Linked DNA regions of Homo sapiens: region 1 is linked to region 2. The links are contacts of gene promoters, found by promoter capture Hi-C in human tissues and cell types (Jung and others, 2019). All regions are on one chromosome and are shown on one strand. The core of a region is centred on a gene start or on the middle of the fragment in contact, and the rest is flanking DNA. Distances in the headings are between cores, read along the strand shown.

Region 1 (6,059 bases), core at 3,072-5,571, 190 kb after region 2:
CTTGTGTCCATTTATTTATGTTTTAGGCTTTATTAATTTTTCCCTTCTACCAATTTATATATTTTTTTCTTGCTTTCCTATTTCTTTGAGGTTCATCGTTAGGTTGTTTATTTGAAAGCTTTTTCTTTTTATGTGATAGGTGTTTATTACTATAAGCTTACCTTGTTTGAACTGCTTTCATTGTATATCATAGGATTTGAAACGACGTGCTTTCATTCTCATTTGTCTCAAGGAATTTGTTAAATTTCTTTTTAATTTATTCCTTGATCCATTGGTGATATAAAAGCAATTTGTTTAATTTCCACATATTTGTAAAGTTTCTAAAATTTTCTTGTTGTTCATTTCTAGCTTTATACCATTGTGTTCAAAAAAGATACTTGATATACTCTCTACCTTAAATATGTTGAAACATGTTTTGTGTCCTTGAGAATGTTTCATGTGCAACTGAGAAGAAGGTATATTCTGCAATTATTGGAGGGAATGTTCTGTAAGTATATGTTAGATTCATTTTGACTATGGTGGAGCTTAAGTTTGATGTTTCTTTGCTGATTTTATATCTAGACAACCTATCTATTGTTAAAAGTGGGAAGTTGAAATTTCCTGTGATTATTGCATTGTAGTCTATCTCTCCCTTTAGATCTGATATTTGCTTTATGTATTTAGACACTCTGGTGTTGTGTGCATATATATTTATCATTGGTATATCCTTTTGTTGAATTTCTCCCTTTATTAAATATAATGACCTTCTTTGTCTCTTTTTACAGTTTTTGACTTAAAGTGTACTTTATCTAACATAAATATGGCCACTCCTTTTGCTTTTGGTTTTCTTTTCCATGGAGTATCTTTGTTTATCCTCTCATTTTCAGTCTGGGTTTATCTTTAATAGTGAGTGTCTTGTACGCAATATACAGTTGGTTCTTAGTTTTTCAAAATCCTTTCAACAATGCAATCTTTAAATTGAAGAATTTAATCCATTTACATTTAAGGTTATTATTGAGAGGCAATGAATTGCCCTTGACATTTTGTTAATTGTTTTCTGATTGTTGTATAGACTCTTTGTTCTTTTTTTCTCTTTTATTATTTACTACTATGGCTGGGTGGTTTTCTGCTGTGCTAAGCTTTGCTTCCTTTCCCTTTCTCATTTGTGTACCTGTTGTAATTTCTTTCTTTGTGGATACCATGAAGCTAACATAAAGGTTCTTGTAGTTATAATCGACTATTCTAAGATGAGAGCAACTTAATTTTGGTCACATAAAAATACTCTAGACATTTTTTCCTGACCCCTCCCTGTAATTTATATATTTGTTGCCTTAATGTGTGTCTTTATCTATTGTTTTTCTTAATGACTAATTGTAGAAGTTGTTTTTTGACCCCTTTGGTTTTTAAACTTTATATCAGAAGATTAAAAGATTGACATAGCACTATTATAGCACTGGGATATTCTGATTTTGGTTATGAGCTGCCCTCTACTGGTGAGTTTTATATTTTCATGTGTTTCCATAATAGTAATTATCTTCACTTTCAGTTGTAGCACTATCATCTTAAGCATTTCTGTAAAGACTAGTGTAGTGGTGATGAATTCCCTCAGATTTTGCTTATTTGGGAAGGTTTTTATTTCTCCTTCATTGCTGAAGGACAGCTTCGCTGATATAGTATTCTTGGTTGCCAGTATTTTTTTTTTCTTTCAGCACTTTGAATATGTCATACCATTCTCTACTGGGCTGCAAGGTTTCTAATGATTGATCTGCTGACAGTATAATAGAATTCTCTTATATGTGACTTGACACTATTCCATTTCAGTTTTCAGAATTCTTGCCTTGTCTTTGACTTTTGATAGATGGATTATAATGTACCTTGGAGTAGATCATTTTTGTTGTAATCTAATTGGGAGTCTTAGAGTTTCTAAATCTGGTTGTTCATATGTTTGCTAAGACTGGGAAGTTTCCACATACTATTTCAATATTTCTGCCTTTCTTTATATCTTCTCCCTCTGGCATTCTTATAATGCAAATATTCATTCACTTAATGGTGTCCCATAAGTAGACTTTCTTTATTGCTTTTTATTTTTGTTTACTTTTTCTCCCCTCTAATTAGGTTACTTTAAAAGAACTGTCTTCAAATTTAGAAACTGTTTCTTCTATACAAATCATAAATACATATGCTGCCAAAATGGCTAGTATGTTGTTAAACCTCTCAGTTGTACTTCTTTTATTCATTGAATTCTTCAGCTCCAAGATATCTGTTTTGTTCTTTTTTTATATCTGTCCCTCTGTTGAATTTCTCATTCAGATAATAAATTATTTTTCTTATTTCATTGAATTGTTTGTCCATATTCTCTTATATCTCATAGTTTAAAAAGAATCATTATTTTAAATTCCAGGAATTGCATAAATTTTTTTATGGGGGGCTGTTAATGTAGAATTATTATTTTCCTTTGGAAATGTCATGTTTCCTTACTTTTTCATGTTTCTTATATCTCTGCATTGATATCTGCATATCTGGTGGAACAGTTATCTTTTCCAACTTTACGGGCTAACTTTTGTAAGGAGAGACTTTTTCCTATAGGTGTGTCTAGGATGTCAGTTGAGTATGATCCATTATCTTTGGTTCTGTGTGGTTCTCTGCAGTTTCATTAGCTATAATTCTCATCAATGATGTCTGCAATTTCATCAGTGGCCTAGGCTACAGGAGTTTGTGATTGTAATGGCTCAGTTTTGTTAGGGGCAACGCTACCAGCCTCACTGTTTAGACAGACTTGCATGGTGGGCCAGCTGGCTATGTAGTGGACTTTCCAGGGCTGCAGGGCCACCCCTAGTCTGGCTGTCAGGCATGGCTTACATAGGTATAGTGGGCTGGCCAACTCTGAGGTGGGTTCTTCAATGGGTGGGGCTGCTGCCATCCTTCCTGTTGGGTCAGGCACACAGGCACCACAGGCCAATCAGCTGCTTGTTGGCTTTCTTGCTGTGCAGATATGCCTGTTTCCCAGGGAGGAGGGGATGTTGCATGGATTTGGGCCATTCCACTGGGCCTAAGCTTAAAGTAGCTGGGGTTGTAGTTCTGTGGCCTTCCTTGTGAGCATGGTGGAATGATGCTGGGGCCTCAGGGATGGAGAGACACAGTGGCTACTGGCCCCCAGAGTAGGACATACTCTAGCAGTCAGTCTGGTTTCAGGATGGTACTATGCAGTTCCAACTTAGGTCACGGGAGTTGGTGGGTATACGAAATGGGCTCCTAGTATAGGGCAACACAGCTATGTGAACTCCAGAAAGCTCCCCAGATAGAATTTGTTGACTGTGAGGCTTGCAGGACCCTCCCGTAGCAGCCTGCAGGCATCTGCAGTAGTAATGGGGACAACTGGTGTCTCCAGCTTACCTTTTCTCGATAAGCAGTAGCCCCTCCTGGCTATGAGCCAATCCCAGTGAGGGAACAATTTGGTAGAGTTTGTGTGTCTCCCTCTTCTTTTATGGTTCTATCCTGAGTTTCTGTGCTTCACAGGGATTTTTTCACTCCCCTTATGTTCCCCAGCATACTTCCTCAGTAACTTCCACTGAAATATAGTTGTTCATTTGTTATGTTGGAGGGGAACCCCACAACCCTTTTTGTGGGGATGAGTGCCAAACAACTCTGATTGACCATCTTGCTAACATTACTCTCCCTGTTCTATTTCTAAATTAAATTTAAAATGTATAGAAATAAATGCAAGATTTAGAAACTACATATTGGCAAATCTGCCTTCTCACTGCCAATAAGACACACACTCGAATTTAGTCTTCAGCAAGGGTGTAATATACAAAGGGCTAGACCTCAGAAAATATGCGTTTGAGTCCTAATTCTGGCCCCAATTTTAAAATCAATTATCCTTAGAACTTAATCTTTCTGAGCCTCTTTTTTTCTCCTGTGGTATGCAAAATGAATGTGAAGTTGATGACTATTAAATTATAAATTTCATTTATTCTACGCTAACCCTATTTTAAAAATCAATAAATATGTTACCTATGATTCAGCAAAGAACACTAGTATCAGTCAGTTTAATGTATTAAAGGATTCTTAAGTCTTTCATATATTAAAACTTATTTTCATTCTACAATGGTTATTGTTTTGTGTTTTTCTTACTAAACTATATCTTAATTTTATGTCATGTAATTGCATTAATTTTTATCAAAAATAATTACTGCAGAAAAAAGTTACTATAATTTTAACATAATTATTAAACTTCAGCTTACTATTTTAAAAACTACTTATTTATTTTGCTGTCAGACAAAATAGCACTTCTTATTTTTAGGCCTTAGTTTTTTTTTTAATTTTATTATTATGATACTTTAAGTTTTAGGGTACATGTGCACAACGTGCAGGTTTGTTACATATGTATACATGTGCCATGTTGGTGTGCTGCACCCATTAACTTGTCATTTAGCATTAGGTATATCTCTTAATGCTAGGCCTTAGTTTTAAACAGATTAAAATAATATTTTTAAGTGGTAAAAGAATAGATAGATAGATAGATTAGATATCTATATATATTCAGAAAGTAATTAGTATAGAAGTAAAAAAAAAGTGACAGTGTAGTGTTATACCTTTCTTGGCCCATTAGAAAAAGAATAACATAATCTAAGTTTTCATATTTGCAAAATTGGCAAAATCATTCTAAGCTTTGGGGTCAGGTGATACTAAGGGGTATTCTGAATGATGTAAATTCTAAAAATGTGACATGTTGTTGCTTGTAATGTTTACATTATGCTTCATTCACATTCCAAGATAGACTCTATTACCATGAGGCTTAAAAATTATATAGGAATAGAGATCAATGTCTCTAAAAGAGGGCTTGTTAACCTTTGCACTATTGATATTTTGGGGCAGTTACATGTTTTGTTTTGTATTGTTTTGGTTGAAAGCTGTCTTACCTACTGTAAGATTTTTACTAGTATTTCTGGCTTCTACCTAGTTAATGCAAATACCCACTCCACCTCTACTGTTACAATCAAATATGTCTTCGGACATTACGAATGTTCCTTGTGAGACAAAGTTAGGCTTGGTTGAAAACCACTGGTCTAGAATATACTGAACTGAAAATAATTTTAATGCCATTTACAGGTGGATGAGATTGAATGCAAGTTTTAGTTAAAAAATCATTTTTGCAGTTTTATGGATAAATAATTTATAATTTATCAAATAAAGTGTATAATTCAGTGGTTTTTATTGCATTCACACATTTGTGCAACCATCATCAAACTCTGGAACATTTGTATCACTTTAAAAGGAAACACTTGTCCTCATCAGCAGTCATTCTCATTATTCCCCCACCTTCATCTATCAGTCCCAGGCAAGCACCAAAATACTTTCTAACTCCATGAACTTACTTATTACATACATTATATAAAAATGGAATTTTACAATATCTTTTTGTAAGTTTTTGTCTAGGGTGTGACTGGATTTTCACTTAGTTTTCAAGTTGAATTTATGTTTAATGTAATATGTATCAATACTTCATTTATTTTTATTGCAAAATTATATTTCATTATATGTATATAACATATTTAATTTATCCAATCATCTTTTGCTTATTCTTTAGTTACTGAGAAAAACTGCATTATTCAACTATGACTGTAAATGTAGCTATTCATTATTTTTCTTCTATTGTTTATTTATTTTGTACTTTTTTGTTTTATTCATTTTGAGATTAGGTTATTAAATGCTTACAAAGTTATTTTTGTCATCTTTTTCTGTTGTTTTATCTTTTTATCATTATAAAATTTCAAACTTTATGTATAAATATTTCTTGCTTTTCAGTATAGTTTCTTTAGAATTACAAGCTTTGTTTTGATTAGGTTTATCATGTTCCGTAATTCTACTTTCAGTCTTTCTTATTTTTGTATTAAAGACACATCTCTTATCAGCAGAACACAGTTACATTTTGTTTCAGTATTCAATTTTAAATTGTTTGCCTACGAATTGCAGGATTTTGTCCATATTAACTTAATGTAATAGCTGAACTATTTGAGTTTAAATGGACTATTCTATGAATTTTTTAAAAATTTGTCCTATCTGCATAGGCATGAGCA
Region 2 (5,672 bases), core at 2,791-5,290:
TATGAATACTGAGAATAACAACATTCTAATAAAATTTTCATTCAAAGAATTCCTCCAAACTGAAAGATTGCTATTTAAAACTCCTTAAATAAAGAGATTTTTAAATGTCCTCTATTGTCCCACAGAAACAATAAAGAGAAATATAAAAGGTGGCAGTGGTCGTGGTGCAGATAAAAAACGAAGCAAAAACCCTCCGTCTTCAGTGAAAATGTTAGTGGACAAAACCCCAAAACACGACTTGAAGCCCATTTCCACTGTAGCCAAATACTAAAAATCATGGACCTTTGGGGGACATCAGAGAAAACCGATCAGTACTTTCTTTTTCTCTTACTTTCAGGAGGATACAGATTGCCCAAAAACCTGCCAGCTGAGGAAATTGCTAGAGTGTTAAGAGAAGGAAACATGTATTTACAAGATCACAATACAGAAGGTTGTGCCTTAATAGGTTTATTGCAAGCTATACTATTCATTCAAGTGGCAAACAAGAGAACAAGTGGTTCTCAAATAAAGAAGATAACCAATTTGTCAATTAAAATTGAAAAGAAATTTGGATATGAAAGATGTGGAAAGTAGACAAATGAGATACAACATGTACAAAATTGGTGATCCTGAAGAAAAGAAAGAAGCAAGATAACCACAATTTGGCCACGCCCAGTTAAGGGACAAAAAAGAAATAGTACAACAAATCCTAAAATAAAAGAATCTTAAATTAATGGGGCAAACCTCAAAAAAAGTTAATGAAAATGGAACAAATCCAGGAATATTCTGTAAAAGCAAACACCCATACACACACTCACACACACACACACAACAAAAGAATCATGTAGGCATTTATCAGAAAAAAAGCAAGTCACATTCAATGACGGAAATTGCAGACAGACCTAAAAATGTTGCAAAACAACTTTCAGTACAGGAAGGGTCTCCAAAAATGTTTAAACATTTACACATTTCCAAAAGAAAAAATTAAGCTTGATCCAAGAAAGATAACGTATCTTGCATGTCTAAGGCAAAAGAAATACATGTTCAAGATGCAAACTCATAGAAAATATAGCACCTATGACTATTTCTTTGGTGGAGAGGTACTACTTACTGAAATCTAACAACCCAAAAAATAATTGAAAATAAAGAACACAGAAATGGTGAATTGGGTAGTAAAAGCCTGTTGATAAAGGATAATTCCTTACAAATTTGAAATAAGTTTAAACTGAGACCATGGGAATTCAGCCAGAATGTATGTACTCAGTAATGTAAAACTGATGTAGTTTAAATTGAGGTGGTATGGGTGGAGTTGATGACAAGTCACATTGCAAATGCATTTAACTATCATAACAAGGGTTATAAAAGTTTGTTTACTATTTAAACGTGCATCCAAAAAAATCTTCAAACTATTTCTATTTTCAAAATTTTTGGTCTTAACTGTAAGGGTATTATTCTGGACATAATATCTCCATTGGAGAGAAATCTATACATGAAATTTAACAATTTCTTCAATGTTGTTTCAACTTCTCTTTTTTCAGTTTAATTAAAATCTAAAATCAAAAATTAAACTCAATGTTTCTGTTTTCTGTTTTCTGTTTGTTTGTTTGTTTGTTTGAGATGGAGTTTCACTCTGTCACCCAGGCTGGAGGGCAATGGCGCGATCTCTGCTCACTGCAAGCTCCGCCTCCCGGGGTCAAGTGATTCTCCTGCCTCAGCTTCCTGAGTAGCTGTGACTACAGGCACACGCCAAAACGCCCAGCTAATTTTTGTATTTTTAGTAGAAATGGGGTTTCACCATGTTGGCCAGGATGGTCTCAATCTCTTGACCTCGTGATCCGCCCGCCTCGGCCTCCCAAAGTGCTGGGATTATAGGTGTGAACCACCGCGCGCGGCCAATATTTCTGTTTTTTTTTAAGTGTAGGATAAGATCTCATTCTTACAGAAGAGTATCTATTATTGACTATATTATCTAAATATTTATTATTTATTTTTTAAAAGGTGTATAGTAAGAAACCATTCTTACAAAAGTATTTATCTCTCATCTTATCTGAATTTAGGCACCAGTATGTCTCCAATGATAGTCGCCAAATTTCATGATTGTTATTTACAGGTGATGGGTTTTCCCTTTTGAACTTTTATGTATAGTTTGAGTCATTTTTAATAGGTAGAACTTATACTTCTGCATTCCAATTAATATGTTATTAAAATAAACAGTGAATAAATAAGCAAATATTTTGTATTCCTTCTCCTCACATAAAAGAATTTAAAAGGTACAAATTTACTATTATACTACTGAGCATTTTTACTTACTAAAAAAAAAACCCAGAAGTATGCAATCAATTTAATATACCACACATCCTTTTCACAACATAATTGATTTTTTTTAGAGGGGGTTCTAAACTCAGAGAAAATATGTGATCCTTTTCTAAGTAAACAAGTGAATTTGTTTTCATTAAGGAAAGCTACATAAAAATTCTAAAAAAAAATTCTGGTCCTTCACTACAAATATTCAAAGGAAGTAATGCAATGAAGTCATTTATAAATGATTGACTTTTTTGCTAAGATGTGATAAGTTATGCATTTATATAACCTCACATAAAGCTTTATATAAAAGTTTCCACATTTATATATTTGAAATCTTTGGACTGCACAGCCATGATTATTGCTTAAAAAAAGAAAAAGAAACCCCACTGAAACATCAAAGATGAAATGCTTCTGTATTTCTTTTTTTTTACACAAATTGTGTAAGTATTTTTGTATGTTTATGTTTGTTTTGTGAACATGCGTATGTTTACACATGTGTGTGAAGGAGGAGGGAAAAAGAGTCTGCTTAAACATTTCTTTCCTTATAAAATACAATGCACATAAATTGGTGAAACCTTCAACAACAAAAATAAAAAGATGATAAACCCATCAGATAAATGAAAATTGCTCAAAACAAGCAATTCAATATTCAGCATATGCTTCTTCTTTTACAGACATCTTCAGAAAACATTGCCACTGTAGATAAAATTATGAATACCTCATTTTCCAAATTGATTCTGTGTGATTCTACTGTTCACTCTATTTTTTCTCAGTATAACTTCTATTTAGTCATTCTGTGAATGTTTCTCAGAGGACATAGTCAGGATGCTGATTATTTAAACATAAGTAGTTTTCATTTGGAGAAGCAAAAACTATGAATTCCAATTTTCCCCCCAAACCCCAATGTTACAGTATCCCATTAACATAATGGGTTATACGTGGCTAATCTCAGAGCTCTTAAAAGTTTTGTTCCCAAGTCATCAACTTCTGAAAGTTTTCATAAAGTATTATAAGAACCTTAATACTGACAACTTAACTGGTGTAAATGGTAAAGGAAACTCCAGAGGCTGTTATCTAGAAGCTGGGTATAAAGCAAAATGCCAGACAAAATTTGGTGAGCCCATATGACCTCCAGTCTTGCTTTGCTCCCCTTACCAAATTCTCCCCTAGGAAACTTTATAACCATTCTTTTAAATCATCCGGTGAGAACTGCAAACCCCACCCCTCATCCCTTTGATTAAAAAAAAAAAAAAGACAAAAAACATTTAGCGATCACATTTTCCCATCTGCCGTTACAGAAAGGGCGTGTAGCCATCTGAAAGTCCCAGAATTAGCACTGTCATCCCGTCTTGCCCATTAGTTTTACTGCAGCAAAGACTAGTGAAACACTGAGAAATATACCTGTAGTCTTTCTTTCCCTGGTTTGATCCTAACCTCCCGGAATACAGATTCAATACATTTCTCCCACACAAGGAATAAATGCATTTTAAACATCAGCATCATAGAAACACAGCATCAATAAAGCAGTGACTTCTCCCCCAACCCCAGCTTTTACCTGTTATGCTAATACAAAGACATTGAAAGGAAGAAAAGCTGCAGCTTGCCCAGCAATATTCTCATTGCAGCAGACACAGCACAATTTTGTACTTACAGATCTTACCAGGGAAATGTCTCGGGATCTTTACAGTTTTTCTGCAGAACTCTGTTTCAAGCTCTCAGCCAGGCATGCTGTGCGTCCAGGCAGAACCAAGCCGTATGGAATGTCTATGCAGCTGGGAGATAATGGGACTCTTTTTCCCAGCTGGGACTGCAAGCCTTTTATCCACTGAGTATTGCGTGGCTCTTCTCTGGTCTTAAGCATGAAATACGCTCCTCTCCTGCTGCATTCCTGTCGGAGCCAGACAATCAGTTCTTGAGGCACATGTGCAAAGCTCTCGTTTGGAATATTCAAAAGGAAAATTCTTTCTACATTGAAAGCCAGCTCTATCTTCATCAACCTTCACAGAATCAGAGAGAGCTGAGAGCAGCTGCCATTCCAGGGCCATGAAAGATTAAATTCACCCTCCTCTTTCTTTGACTGGAGATAGTCACTCCTGTCGGGTCATCAGAAAATCTCTCTTATTGAAAACTGGGTCAGACTAACTACTTATTAGGTTTCCAACAGGAAAGGAAGTAATTTTTTTCTTCCTCTGGTTTCACTGCATTGTCATTTGCAAGCAAAGATTAAGCTGGTCAAGGGTCTGCACTGATTTAGACAGTATTCAAATGTAAGCTTTTTGAAGCATGCCAGTAACTCCTATTAGTGAAGGTGAAGAGAAAAGGGAAATAAAATCAAATGATTGTATGCACTATCACTAAAACCTTTATAAGTTGTATTTTTTAAATGTGTGTATGAGGCTTCTTAAAGACAGGTAAAGAAAGTGAAGTCAAACAAGTCCAAAAGAGTATTGCTGCTTTCCGAGTAACATATTTGTAATTCCAGAGGCAGAGAACAAGTGTCTATGTGTTTGCCTAAGAGCTCTGTAAGAAGAAGAATTGTTTTTGTGTTTCACCCTGGGCCCTCCAACTAAACTTTTTAATATGTTTGGGTCTTGTCATCGGGTTTTGAAGGGACTAACTGCTTGAAGGATGAAAACTAAGGAATAGGAATTACACATACATGCACACTGAGACTCTAGTGCATACAAACATAACTATAACATGAGAAAAGAATGATAGTTTGGACTTATTTTCATGTTGGCATACAAAGAAATTATACTCTTAGCATCTTAAAGTAAGTGGATACTGAGAAAATGAAATCCCCAAATCAAATGGAAATAAGTCAAAAGATATTTCTTGGCCTCAGTTTACTTTCATCTGATGAGCAAGAAGGTTTCTATGACTACATTTTATGACTATGTCCTATGGATTTCTTCACAGGGTCTAACCAACATTATAAGAGGCTTTAGAAAGGAGATGATGCTTCCTAACACAAGGTAAACTCAAAATGGGCTACCCTATTGTTTCTCCCAATTCATAAGAAGGCAAACTAGACTAATAATTTTATAGAAAGAATATCTGTTTTTATTGCCTCTTTTTTTTTTTTTTAAAAAAAATAGAAGTATTTCTTGCTCTGTAGGAATAAAAATATATTTTATTTGTAAAAATGCCAAGATGACTTTTTCTGCAGAGTTTTAAGAAAAATAATCATTATGTAGTAGGCTTTATTTTTTTTTTGTGGAAAGAAATTCATTCAAGCTTAAAGAATATCCCTTTACTCAAATCTCCAACAGTCTGACTCATATTCAAGGACAGCTGATTGCTTTGCTTTCTATTTTACCCAAAAAGGAATAAGAACCAGAAGAAAACTTCAATAAGCTCCTGTCACTACATCTAGTCACATACTTGGC

The links. Contacts are between HindIII fragments. The study calls those that stand out against the background at their distance.
Region 1: a fragment that was not itself captured here is called in contact with the fragment with the promoter of CNTN6 in region 2 in 1 of the 25 tissues and cell types used here (H1 embryonic stem cells).

Annotation. Positions count from the first base shown.
Region 1 is chr3:897,780-903,838 of GRCh38, reverse strand. All of the region lies in intron 2 of LOC107986059 (a long non-coding RNA gene), which reads right to left. Among named protein-coding and RNA genes, the nearest start is that of CNTN6, 190 kb to the left of the region's middle. The HindIII fragment of the contact is 4,490 bases long and covers 2,077-6,059 here.
Region 2 is chr3:1,091,392-1,097,063 of GRCh38, reverse strand. It overlaps CNTN6 (contactin 6), which reads right to left and starts at 4,040. Exons shown (of 23, transcript NM_001289080.2): 1 at 3,944-4,040. The HindIII fragment of the contact is 3,264 bases long and covers 1,775-5,038 here.